Regions from separate parts of the Homo sapiens genome. Here region 1 is linked to region 2. Evidence: promoter capture Hi-C in human tissues and cell types (Jung and others, 2019). All regions are on one chromosome and are shown on one strand. The core of a region is centred on a gene start or on the middle of the fragment in contact, and the rest is flanking DNA. Distances in the headings are between cores, read along the strand shown. Region 1 overlaps LOC105370105 (a long non-coding RNA gene). Region 2 holds the start of IFT88 (intraflagellar transport 88).

Evidence for each region. Contacts are between HindIII fragments. The study calls those that stand out against the background at their distance.
Region 1: a contact is called between a fragment that was not itself captured here and the fragment with the promoter of IFT88 in region 2, in 1 of the 25 tissues and cell types used here (dorsolateral prefrontal cortex).

Annotation. Positions count from the first base shown.
Region 1 is chr13:21,283,608-21,289,567 of GRCh38, reverse strand. The region is part of intron 3 of LOC105370105 (a long non-coding RNA gene); the gene reads right to left. It overlaps LOC101928764 (coiled-coil domain-containing protein 144B), which reads left to right. Exons shown (of 6, transcript NR_172129.1): 5 at 1,742-1,933; 6 at 2,046-5,960. Among named protein-coding and RNA genes, the nearest start is that of LINC01046, 52 kb to the right of the region's middle. The HindIII fragment of the contact is 4,447 bases long and covers 1,192-5,638 here.
Region 2 is chr13:20,564,016-20,570,282 of GRCh38, reverse strand. IFT88 (intraflagellar transport 88) reads right to left here and starts at 3,126. Exons shown (of 26, transcript NM_006531.5): 1 at 3,027-3,126. LOC105370103 (a long non-coding RNA gene) reads left to right here and starts at 3,254. Exons shown (of 6, transcript XR_941725.3): 1 at 3,254-3,607; 2 at 4,733-4,782. RefSeq lists silencers at 2,733-2,921, 3,017-3,426. The HindIII fragment of the contact is 1,600 bases long and covers 2,887-4,486 here.

The DNA.
Region 1 (5,960 bases), core at 2,166-4,665, 720 kb before region 2:
ACAGTAGTCTTGTTGGTGTCACATCTGTATTGCGGTATCACATTTGTATTGGGGTGTCACATGTGTATTGCAGGTGTTATATGAGTCTATGGCTGTCATGTCAGTATTGTGGGCATCATATCGGTCTTACGGGTGTCATATCAGTATTACAATATGTCATGATATGTCACACCAGTATGACACCTCTTCCGAAAACACCCTCACAGACATACCTAGACATAGTGCTTTAGCAGCTCTCTGTGTATCCCTTAATCCAGTCATGTTGACACCTAGACTTAACTATCACAGTAATTCATGGCAAAAATTTTAGAATTTTTAAACATTGTATAATGAAAGCTGGGCAACATAGCCAGACACTGTCCCTACAAAAATATTTTTAACAATTAGCTGGTTGTGGTGGCACGCATGTGTAGTTCCAGTTACTCTGGAGGCTGAGGTGGGTGCATCTTTTGAGCCCAGGAGATTGAGGCTGCAGAGCTAGGATCGTGGCACTGCATTCCAGCCTGGGCAACAGTGTGAGGCTCTCTCAAAAACCAATCAGCAGTACTAATATTCTTAGGAATAAATTTAACCAAGGTACCAGACTTGAACATGGAAAATGTCAAAACATTGCTGAAATAAATTCAAGAAAGCATAAATAAATGGAAAGACACTTCATGTTCATAAACTAGAAGACACTAATTTTTAAGATGGCAGTACTACACAAAGCAATCTACAAATTTATTGCAATTCCTGTTAAAATCCCAAAGTCCTTTTGGCAGAAATCCACAAGCTGATCCTAACATTTACATGAAATTTCAAGGGATCCAGAATAGCCAAAATAATGTCAAAAAAATGACCAACTCAGAGGCTCACATTTCCAAATTTCAAATCTTACTACAAAGCAACAGCAATAAAAACAGCATGATGCTGGCATAAGGACACATGTATAGATCAATGGAACTGAATGTTGAGTCCAGAAATAAACCCATACTTCTATGATCTTTTTTTTTTGGCAGGGAGACTCACTCTGTCTCCCAGGCTGGAGTACAGTGGCACGATTATGGCTCACTGCAGCCTCTATCTCCTGGGCTCAAGTGATCCTCCTGCCTCAGCCTACCAAGTAGCTGGGACTACAGGTATGCACCACCACACCTGCCTAATTTTTTTATTTTTTTGTAGAGGTGGAGTCTTGCTATCTTGCCCAGGCTGGCTTGAACTCCTGGCCTCAAGTGATACTCCCCTCTTGGCCTCCCAGAGCATTGAGATGATGGGTGTGTGCCACCACGTCTGGCCTGTTGATTTTTAAAAATGGATTTTTTTTCTTTTCTGTCTTTTTTTTTTTTTTTTTTGAGGCAGGGATTCACTCTGTTGCCCAGGTTGGAGTGCAGTGGTGTGAACACGGCTTACTGCAGCCTCAACCTCCCAGGTTCCAGCAATCCTCCCTCTTCTGTCTCCCGAGTAACTAGGACTACAGACATGACCCACCACACTCAGCTAATTTTTAAATTATTTGTAGAGACAGGTTTCCTTGAGTTGCCCAGACTGGCCTCAAACTCCTGGGTTCAAGCAAGCCTCCAACCTCAGCCTCTCAAAGTGCTGGGATTACAGGCATGAGCCACCACCTCCAGCCTGGAATCGTTTTCATCATTACATTCTGATGTTTGTTGCTAGTGTCTAGAAATACAACAGATTACCATGTGTTGACATTTTGTGCTGTAACTTTGCTGAATTTATTCACTAGTTTTAATAATTGAATAAGGAGGAGCAGCGAGGACGGCGTGGGCTGTGGAGCCGAGCACAATGACAGCGCCTTCCTGGAGCCTGGGTACGACGTCTGCCTGGAAGATCTTGGCGATCTCCACAGAGCTGCCTGGAGGGGCATAGTCCCCAGAGTGGAGCTCATTCTCATGCTCAGGGACCCTGGCTTGGACAAGAGAGACAAGAAGAAGAGGTAATGGGCCGGGCGGGGGCTGGGAGGGTGGGGAACTGGGAGAAGCCCTTTCCCTGGGGGATGGGGTGGGTTGCGCCCTCCTGTCACCGGCCCAGCTTTCTCGCCCCCGCAGGTCCCGCAGCACCTGGGATGTGGAATCCCTGGAGGAGTCACAGGGCCCAGGCCGCTTCATGAGCCCCCAAAACGAAAACCACACGCAGCCGTGATTTCCCTATTTCTCCTGATTTCCCTCTTTCTCCTGATTCCAACTGCATCTTTATATCTAAAAATTTTTGGCTTACCACACGGGGAGCTAAAAAAGCAACTCTTACCTGATATGTACTCAGAGGTGCTCTGGGTTTTAAACTGTCCATCACACAAGCCAAACCAGGCTCCACAAAACAGGAACAAGGAACCTAAGTAGTTCCATTGTTTTGTGCTCAAAAACATGGGGTGCTGTATCCCGAGTTCTGAAGCAACTGAAATCTATGTTGTCACTTGCAATACTAGTGAGAGGATGACTGGAGTAAGCTATTTTGTTCTGCAGCAGAAGACTCTTGTGATCAAACTGATACCTTAGGTAAACTGTTGGAGTTATTTTCAAACCTTCATAAAAGCATGGCCAGTTAAGGTTGTGTCCAGATTCAAATAGAGTTTGTACCAGGTCAAAAAGAGTCTCGTACTCTTTATTTGGTTGTAGAGAAGAGAAAATTAAGTTTCTTTACCTATGACTTCTCTCATGTTTCTCTGGAGGGCTCTCTTAGAGACTATTTCAACAAATATGACATTTTCCCTTCCTTTGGCTGCGGTTGTGAGAGCCTGGATGAAACCAACTGGCTCTGGAATGTTCCTGTATCAATATTTGCCAGTAGTCAAATCTTCACAAGCTGTTTTTCCTGTTGTTATTGAAATCAGCTCCATTTCTGGCTCCATCCTCCCCAAATTCCCAATGCTCTCTTTAATGTCTTTGCACACTGGATCCATCATATAATTGTGATTAGCAGCTGGAACTGACAGAATATATGAAAATATCCTGCTTTTCTCAAACTGCTGAGCCACCTTTCATGACACTTGGCTGTAGCTTCTGCCTCTCCTGACAGGATATAGGAGCAAGGACTGTTAAAGGCTGCCATGCACATTCTTCTGGAGAAGGACACTACAGCCTTCGAGATTTCTGTTCTCGGAATCTATAAAGGCTCTAAAAAATGAAGTATATATCTTTTAAAAATAAAAAATAAATAAATCATAACTGCATACAATTAGATCTAGTACATACTGCACTATTGTAATGATCTCATAGCCACCTCCTGTTGCTATTGCAGTGAACTCAAGTGTTGCAGGTATCCACTTAAAACGCCAAATGATGCTCATCATCTCCACAGATGCAGTTCGTCTTGCCAGCAAATCATGTTTCATAGTGAAAGTGACCTCTTGTGGTACTCATGTAGTTTTCTTTTTAAAATTATTTGTATGAGGCATAGTAGGTATATATTTATAAAATACATGAGATATTTTGACAGAGGCATACAATCAATGCATAATAATTATATCAGGGTAAATGGGTATTCATCACCTCAAACATTTATCATTTCTTTGAGTTACAAACATTCCGATTACACTGTTTTATTTTTAAATGTACAATAAAATATTGTTGACTGTAGTCACACTGTTCTGCTATCAAGTAGTAGATCTTATTCATTTTATCTAACGATATATTTTTTACCCATTAACCATCCTCACTTATCCCCAACCCCCATTACCCTTCCCAACCTCTGGTAACCTTCATTCAATTCTCTATGTTCATGAGTTTCATTGTTTTAATTTTTAGCTCCCACAAATGAATGAGAAGTCTTTCTGTGCCTGGCTTATTTCCCTTGACATAATGACCTCTAGTTCCTTCAATGTTGTTGCAAATGACAGTATCTCATTCTTTTCTATGGTTGAATAGTGCTCCATTGTGGGGGTGTGTGTGTGTATATATATGTGTGTGTGTATATCTCACATCTTCTTTATCTGTTTGCCTGTTGATGGTCACATAGCTTGCTTCCAAATATTGGTTATTGTGAATAGTGCCGCAGTAAACTTGGAAGTACCAATCTCTCTTGGACATACTGATTTCCATTCCTTTGGATAAATACCCAAATGCTCTCTTTAACATCTTTCCACACTAGATCCATCATATAATTGTGCATAATAGCAGCTGGAACTGACAGGATATAGAGAAATATGCTGCTTTTCTCAAACTGCTCAGCCACCTCTTCATGATACTTGGCTATAGCATCTGCCTCTCCTGATGGGGTACAGGAGCAAAGACTGTTAAAGGGGGATTGCTGGATCATACGGCAGTTCTTTTTTAGTTTTCTGAGGAAGCTCCATGCTGTTCTCCATAGTGGTTGTACTTATTTACATTCCCAACAACAGTGTATGAGGGTTCCCTTTTCTCTATATCCTTGCCAGCATTTGTTGTTGCTTGTCTTTTGTATCAAAGCGCTTTCTAGTGGGGTGAGATGTTATCTCATTGTAGTTTTGATTTGCATTTCCTTCATGATCAATGATGTTGAGCACCTTTCTATATACCTATTTGCCATTTGTGTGCCACTGTGTGCCTGTTTGCCATTTCTTCTTTTGAGAAATGTCTATTGAGATATTTTGCCCATTTTAAAATCAGATTATTAGATTTTTTTTCCTATTGAGTGGTTTGATCTCCTTATATATTCTGGTTATTAATCTCTTGTCAGATGGATAGTTTGCAAATATTTTCTCCCATTCTGTGGGTTATCTCCTCACTTTGTTGATTGTCTCCTTTGCTGTGTAGAAGCTTTGGAGTTTGACATGATTCTATTTGTCTATTTTTGCTCTGGTTTGTGCTTCAGGGGTATTACTCAATAAATCTTTGCCCAGACCAATGTTCTGAAGTTTCCCAAATGTTCTCTTTCAGTAGATTCATAGTTTGACATCTTAGATTTAGGTCTTTAATGCATTTGATTTTTTGTGTGTGATGAGAGACAGGGGTCTAGTTTCATTCTTCTAAATATGGATATCCAATTTTCACAGCACCATTAATTGAAGACACTGTCTTTTCACCAATGCATGTTCTTGGTATTTTTGTTGAAGTGAGTTCCCTGTAGAGGTATGCATTTATTTCTGTCCTCTCTATTCTGTTGCACTGGTCCATGTGTCTTTTTTTTATGCCAGTTACCATGCTGCTTTGGTTACCATAGCTCTGTAGTATAATTTTAAGTCAGGTTATGTAATTCCTTCAGTTTTATTCTGCTCAGAATGGCTTTGGCTATTCTGGGTGTTTTCTGATTCCATCAGAAAGTTTTAGGATTATTGTTTCTATTTCTGTGAAGAATATCACTGGTATGTTGATAGGGACTTCATTGATTCTGTAGATTGCTTTGCATAGGATGGACATTTTAACGATATGGATTCTTCCAATCCATGAAAATGGAATATTTTTTTCAATTTTGTCTCCTCTTCCATTTCTTGAATCAATGTTTTATAGTTCTTACTGTAGAGGTCTTTCACTTCTTAGGTGAAGTGTATTCCTACATATCTTATTTTGTTTGAGCTATTGTAAATGGCATTAGTTTCTGATTTCTTTTTCAGATTGTTCAATGTTGGTATATACAAGGGCTACTGATTTTGTATGTTTATTTTTTATCCTGCAACTTTACTGAATTTGTTTATCAGTTCTTAGGGAGAGTCTTTAGGTTTCCCAAATATAAGATTATATCATCTTCAAACAAGGGTAATTTTACTTTTTCCTTTCCAAATAGATCCCCTTTGTTTCTTTCTCTTGTCTCAATGCTCTAGCTAGGACTTCTTGTTTTTTTCATCATGTTTAATTTAATAGTGTAAATCATAGAACCCAAAGAAAGTACCACTAGTGATGCATAAAGTGCTTCCAAGAAGCAGAGAAATAACATAACAATATAAGAAAAAGCTGATTTGCTTGATATGTACCACGGTTTGAGGTCTGTAGCTTTGTCTGCATTTTTAGAAAGATGATTCATCTCAGAAACACATGAAGTAAACTTATGGT
Region 2 (6,267 bases), core at 1,877-4,376:
TTTACATCCCACCTGCAATGCATGAAGTTTCCAATTTATCCATGTCCTAGCCAACATCTGTTACTGTTCCTGTTTTTGATTATTGCAATTCTAGTGAGTATGAAATGGTATCTCATTGTAGTATTGACTTGCATTCCCCTGATGACTAATGATGTTGAGTATCTTTTCATCTGCTTATTATCCATTTCTATATCTCTTTGGAGAAATGTCTGTTCAGATCTTTTGCTCATTTTTTTTTTTTTTTGAGACGGAATCTTGCTCTGTCGCCTAGGCTAGAGGGCAGTGGCGCGGCTCACTGCAAGCTCCGCCTCCCAGTTTCACGCCATTCTCCTGCCTCAGCCTCTCGAGTAGCTGGGACTACAGGCACCCGCCACCAAGCCCGGCTAATTTTTTTATTTTTATTTTTATTTTTATTTTTAGTAGAGATGGGGTTTCACCGTATTAGCCGGTATGGTCTCGATCTCCTGACCTTGTGATCCGCCCACCTCGGCCTCCCAGAGTGCTGGGATTACAGGCGTGAACCACCGCGCCCGGCCAGCTCATTCCCAAAAATCAGGTTATCACATGAATTATAAGGATCCTGTATATATTCCTGATACTAAACATTATATAAATGATTTACAAATACTTTCTCCCATTCTGTACATCATTTTACATTCTTTGTACTATCCTCTGAAGCACAAAAGTTTAAAAAAATTTTTTTTTTTTTTGGGACGGAGTCTCGCTCTGTCACCCAGGCTGGAGTGCAGTGGCGCGATCTCGGCTCACTGAAAGCTCCGCCTCCCGAGTTCACGCCATTCTCCTGCCTCAGCCTCTCCAGCAGCTGGGACTACAGGCGCCCGCCACCACGCCCGGCTAATTTTTTGTATTTTTAGTAGAGACGGGGTTTCACCGTGTTAGCCAGGATGGTCTCGATCTCCTGACCTCGTGATCCGCCCGGCTCGGCCTCCCAAAGTGCTGGGATTACAGGCGTGAGCCACCACGCCTGGCCAAAAGTTTTAAATTTTGATGATATACAATTTATTTTTCCTTTGGTTGCACGTACTTTTGGTATCATATCTAAGAAAGAACTGCCTAATCTAAGGTCAAGAATATTTATACCTATGCTTTTTTTCTAACAGTTTTAGCTCTTATATTTAGGTCATTGATCCATTTTGAGTTAATTTCTCATTACTTTTTGAAGATGAAAATTAACTACTATGAGGGCAAATGTCACCCACATAGAAATGGCATTCCAAAATAGCTTCAAAAGGTTATTAAAAGGGCCAGGCGTCGTGGCTCACGCTTGTAATCCCAACACTCTGGGAGGCCGAGGCGGGCGGATCACGAGGTCAGGAGATCGAGACCATCCTGGCTAACACGGTGAAACCCCGTCTCTACTAAAAATACAAAAAATTAGCTGGGCATGGTGGCGGGCGCCTGTAGTCCCAGCTACTCGGGAGGCTGAGGCAGGAGAATGGCATGAACCCGGGAGGCGGAGCTTGCAGTAAACCGAGATTGCCGCCACTGCACTCCAGCCTGGGCAACAGAGCGTGCGACTCCGTCTCAAAAAGAAAAAAAAAGGTATTAAAAGTCACTGGTAAAAGATATATAAAATATTTTTAATTAAAAGCTTTAGCTCAGATAATACTAAACCAGTGGTTCTTAAACCCAAGTGATGCTGAGGCTACTGGTCTGGGGACCACTTTGAGAACCACTATTCTGAACCATAATTTCTGATTATGAACCCTATTTAAGTCAGCTTAGTTGACACATAAGTTATAGAAGGAAGCAACTTTTAGAATGAGAAATCCTTTCTGCTAGGTTGTAACCAGATTTTTAAAAGGTTTGACTTGAGACTTTAGTTGAATAGACATCTTGTGGAACATACAAATATTAAAAGATGTGGAAAGTGAGGCCAGGAAAGTTGAAGGGAATCAAGCATGGCTAATAGCTATGGGTGGCAGAACAACTGTTGTTATACAACCCAGGGTTTCTGGATTCTCCAGGCAATTTCCAAAGCAGCTTATACATGTAACAAACTTTTCCATGTTGAAATAATCTGGGGATGATGCCACCTATGTTTAATATAAATCAAATGCTGGCAAAACCTTTTTTTTTTTTAAGTGAAAGGTATGTTTTTTAATACTCTTCTACTGACTATGGACAGTCTACTTCAAGCTTTTCCAACCCCGGCCCGCACGTGGCACAGGACGGCTTTGAATGTGGCCCAACACAAATTCGTAAACTTTCTGGAAGCATTATGAGATTCTTTTTTGCGATTTTTTTTAAAGCTCATCGGCTACCTTAGTGTTTGTGAATTTCATGTGTGGCCCAAGACAATTCTTCTTCCGATGTGGCCCAGGGAAGCCAAAGATTGGACACCCTTGGTCTACTTCCAAGAAGCCTACTGCAGTTTCTCGAAAAAAAAAAAACAAACAAAAAAAACTCACAACCAGAAAATCGGACTAGTAAAAGTGTAATTTTAGGCTTAGAAAGAATCTTGGGACAACAGTACTTCACGTTTTTGGAATGTTTCCATCTTTGTGAGGCTAAGTACCGCTTTCTGCATTGTTGTGTACTTTTATCTTCATTCCTGATTCAACTTTCATCAGGCAATTTGAAGTGCTTCACCTAACAAGAAAATTAAAGAGCGATGTGCACCATCTCTGCTGTGCGATTCCAGAGCTGGCGCAGTAATCTAACTGGGTTTTAAGTTTCCCCGTCAGGCGTGACTGGGACTTGGGACATCGCCAAGCGGTCAGCGACGCCCGTCCCAGTTCAGAGGAGCAAGAAAAGCCTGTGAGCTGGGGACACCGATGTGAGAAACAACGCCCGCGTTTCTGAGTAGACAACTCGGGAGCCTGAGGAAGAAAAGCAGGGGCAGGCCGAGTCCATCTGGGGCCCCGCCTCAGACCGCCCCGGGGCCGACAGGGGCGGGCAGGAGACGGGCGAAGAGGCCCTCGGCGGGATGCGCCACACAGGACGCCGCAGGGGCACGGCTGCCAGGGGCCCTGAGGCACTAGGCCCCAGCGCCCTTCTCCTACCTCACGCTGAGGGAAGCGGGCGACAGTTATTCGGGCCCAGGGACGACGCAGCGGTTGGCCAAAGCGCGACGCCGAGCCGTTGCCAAGCGCGGAATCCAAGGAAGCCGCTCCCACAGTCCTCCGCGCGGGGGCGGGCGGGGCCGGAAGCGCGGGGGCGGGAGAGAGCGCGGCGGGAAGGGGGTGGTGCGGGAGGCCTGGGGAAGTGGGTGGGGGCGGAGAACGGCGGGTCAGAGAGAAGGCAGCCCGGTCCCCCTCAGTGGAAGGGAGTGGCGGTGGGCGGAGGGTGTTGAGGGGACGGTGCCAGCGGCTTGCGGGAAGCCGGGCGATGCGGGTAGAACGGTGGAGGAGAGGGCAGGGAGGCCGGGGCCTCCCGTGGAACGGAACCGGGGGGTTGGGAGGCTGGGGGCGGCCTGTGTGAAGGGGGCGGGGAGGGAAAGGCTCGCGGCCAGTAGATGCAGGAGGGAGGAGGGCCTAGAGGGGCTCCGGGCTGGCGGCCTCTGTGAGGAAGGGGAAGGATATGGAACCAAGATCCTTTAAATCCTGATGAACTCATCCGTAAAGCAGATGCCCAAAGGATGATAGTAAGCTTACTGTGACATAACTCCCGGAGCCGCAGCACGAGCCTTGTGAACCTTGGAAGCCCGTTTTCCGCGCAGTCACTAACTCGCTTAGTCACCCTGTGTAAAAGTTATTCTGGGATGACACCTGCCTGGGAAGTCTCACCTTTCCCCCCACCTCCTCCTGTCTGCGTATTGTTCTGTAGCACCCCGTGCGCACCTTGATTGTAGCGCTTAAGGTGTCCGTTTTATTTACTAGACAGGGATTGAACCATTGTGTCCCAACCACCTAGAACCTGGGTCATAGTGTAAAGCTTAATCAATGTAATATAAATGGGGGAATTAAATTCATAATTGTTTAATGTTTAAGTTTTGTCTTAAATTTTAAAAGTAAATGTTGGGGATGGAGGGGAGGGACAGAGGGAGTCTAAAGACACCAGTAATTAATGAGTTTTTATAAAATAAGTAGTGTTGGCCGGGCGCAGTGGCTCATGCCTATAATCCCAGCACTTTGGGAGGCTGAGGCTGGCGGATCACCTGAGGTGAGGAGTTGGAGACCAGCCTGGCCAACGTGGTGAAACCCTGTCTCTACTAAAAATACAAAAATTAGCCCGGCGAGGTGGCAGGCGCCTGTAATAAATCCCAGCTACTCAGGAGGCTAAGGCAGGAGAATCTCTTGAACCCAGGAGGTAGAGGTTGCAGTGAGCCAAGATGGTGGTATTGCACTCCAGCCTGGGTGACAAGAGCGAAACTCCATCCAAAAAAAGAAAAAACATAGTGTTGGGGGACAATTCTCCATGGGTCACCTGCACTTTCCCGTGTTTTGTGAGCAGAGACACTGACTGCCTTTGTTCTGGAGTACTATGATAGCTGGTATTTTTTAAGATGTGATTAACAGTTAAATTAGACTTGAGTAAAGCAGTTGGTCCTCCACAAGGTGGGTTGGCCTCATCCCGTCAAGGGAAGGTCATAAGAGAAAAGACTAAGGTCCTCTGAGGAAGAAGGAATCCTGCCCCCAGACTGCCTTCAGCTCTTTCCTGGGTCTCTAACTTGACCTACAAATTTTAGGCTTGCCAGCATTATAAATAAAGTTTTGGTGCCGCAAAAGAAATAGCACTCAACTATAAAATTTTCTTTTTTCCTTCTCAGCAAGGCAATTTACTTCTATAGAAGGGTGCGCCCTCACAGATGGAGCAATGGTGAGCACACACCTGGACAAGGGAGGCGAAGGGGTTTTTATTCCTGACGCTTGTGGCACCTGCTGCTGTGTCCTTCCCCTGTTGGCTAAGGTTAGACGGCACAGGCTAAACTAATTCTGATTGACTAATTTAAAGAGAGTGACCGGGTAAGTGGTTTGGTGGGAAAAATAGTTATGGCAGAGCAGGAAATCGGAATGAGTCAGGGTGGAGAATGAGTCAGGGCAGAGCAGGTAATCAGAATGAGTCAGGGTGGAGCAGGTAGTTGAAAAAGATTGCTTTACGAGGAAGTTAAGCTTTTTTTGTTTTGTTTTGTTTTTTTTAATTGAGACAGAGTCTCGCTCTATAGCCTAGACTGGAGTGCAGTGGCGGCATCTCGGCTCACTGCAAGCTCTGCCTCCTGGGTTTGCTCCATTCTCCTGCCTAAGCCTCCCGAGTAGCTGGGACTACAGGTGCCCGCCACCACACCCGGCTTATTTTTTGTATTTTTAGTAGAGATGGATTTCACCGTGTTAGGATGGCCTCCATCTCCTGACTTCATGATCTTCCCGCCTCGGCCTCCTGGGATTACAGGTGTGAGCCACCGCATCTGGCCAGAAGTTAAGTTTAAAAGTAGAAGACAAAGAATTGAACATACTGACATTGATTCTTCGAAGAGAAATTTAGAACTCATATCTAACACCAGCCTCCAATTGATTGAGCCAATTCCTTCAAATAAATCTCTCTCTGCAATATGCATCCTATTGGATCTGTTTCTGTAGGGAATTCTGATTAATATACCCTTTCAAGGAACAGCTTTGGAAGATTAAGATAATTGTCTGCTTCTGGAACAAAAGACAGGTTTGTTGCTGTTCAGTTTAATAAAGAGAGTGTCACCTTCTGGGGCAAAGGCTGAGCATGTTGGCTTGCAGTTCACTGTTCAAGACTGGGCTTTCCTAAACTTGGTGTACCTGGGCGGTAAAACCAATCACATGTGCAGCATCCACCTGGACTGTCCCCATGGGACTTGGAAGGGAAAGGGGAACCGAAGGGAATATGAAGCCCAGGCTACTGGCTGTGCTGTGAAAAATAAAGCCCTTTCTCTCTGACTCAGGTGTTTTCTGCCATCATTTGTGGAGCTGTTAGATGAGCTTGTTAGCTTGCAAGTAGGGTAAAATCTAACATGATTCTGAATAGTATCTAGCCATACTATACCCAGCTCATAGCAGTTGTTCCAAGAAATATTTGTTGAATTAATTAGTGAATACCGGGGAGCCTTATTTCAAGTTACTGTCCCTCTATAGACACAATTTCCATTATCTCTGGATCTCCAAACTGTAAATTTTCAGTCTCCTCAAAAAAATCTTTTTAATTAGAAACAAATTCAAGTTACTTCAACTTGGTTACTTTTTTTTTTTTTTTTTTGAGACAGAGTCTCACTCTGTAACCCAGGCTGGAGTGCACTGGCACCATCTCAGCTCACTGCAACCTCTGCCTCCCGGGTACAAA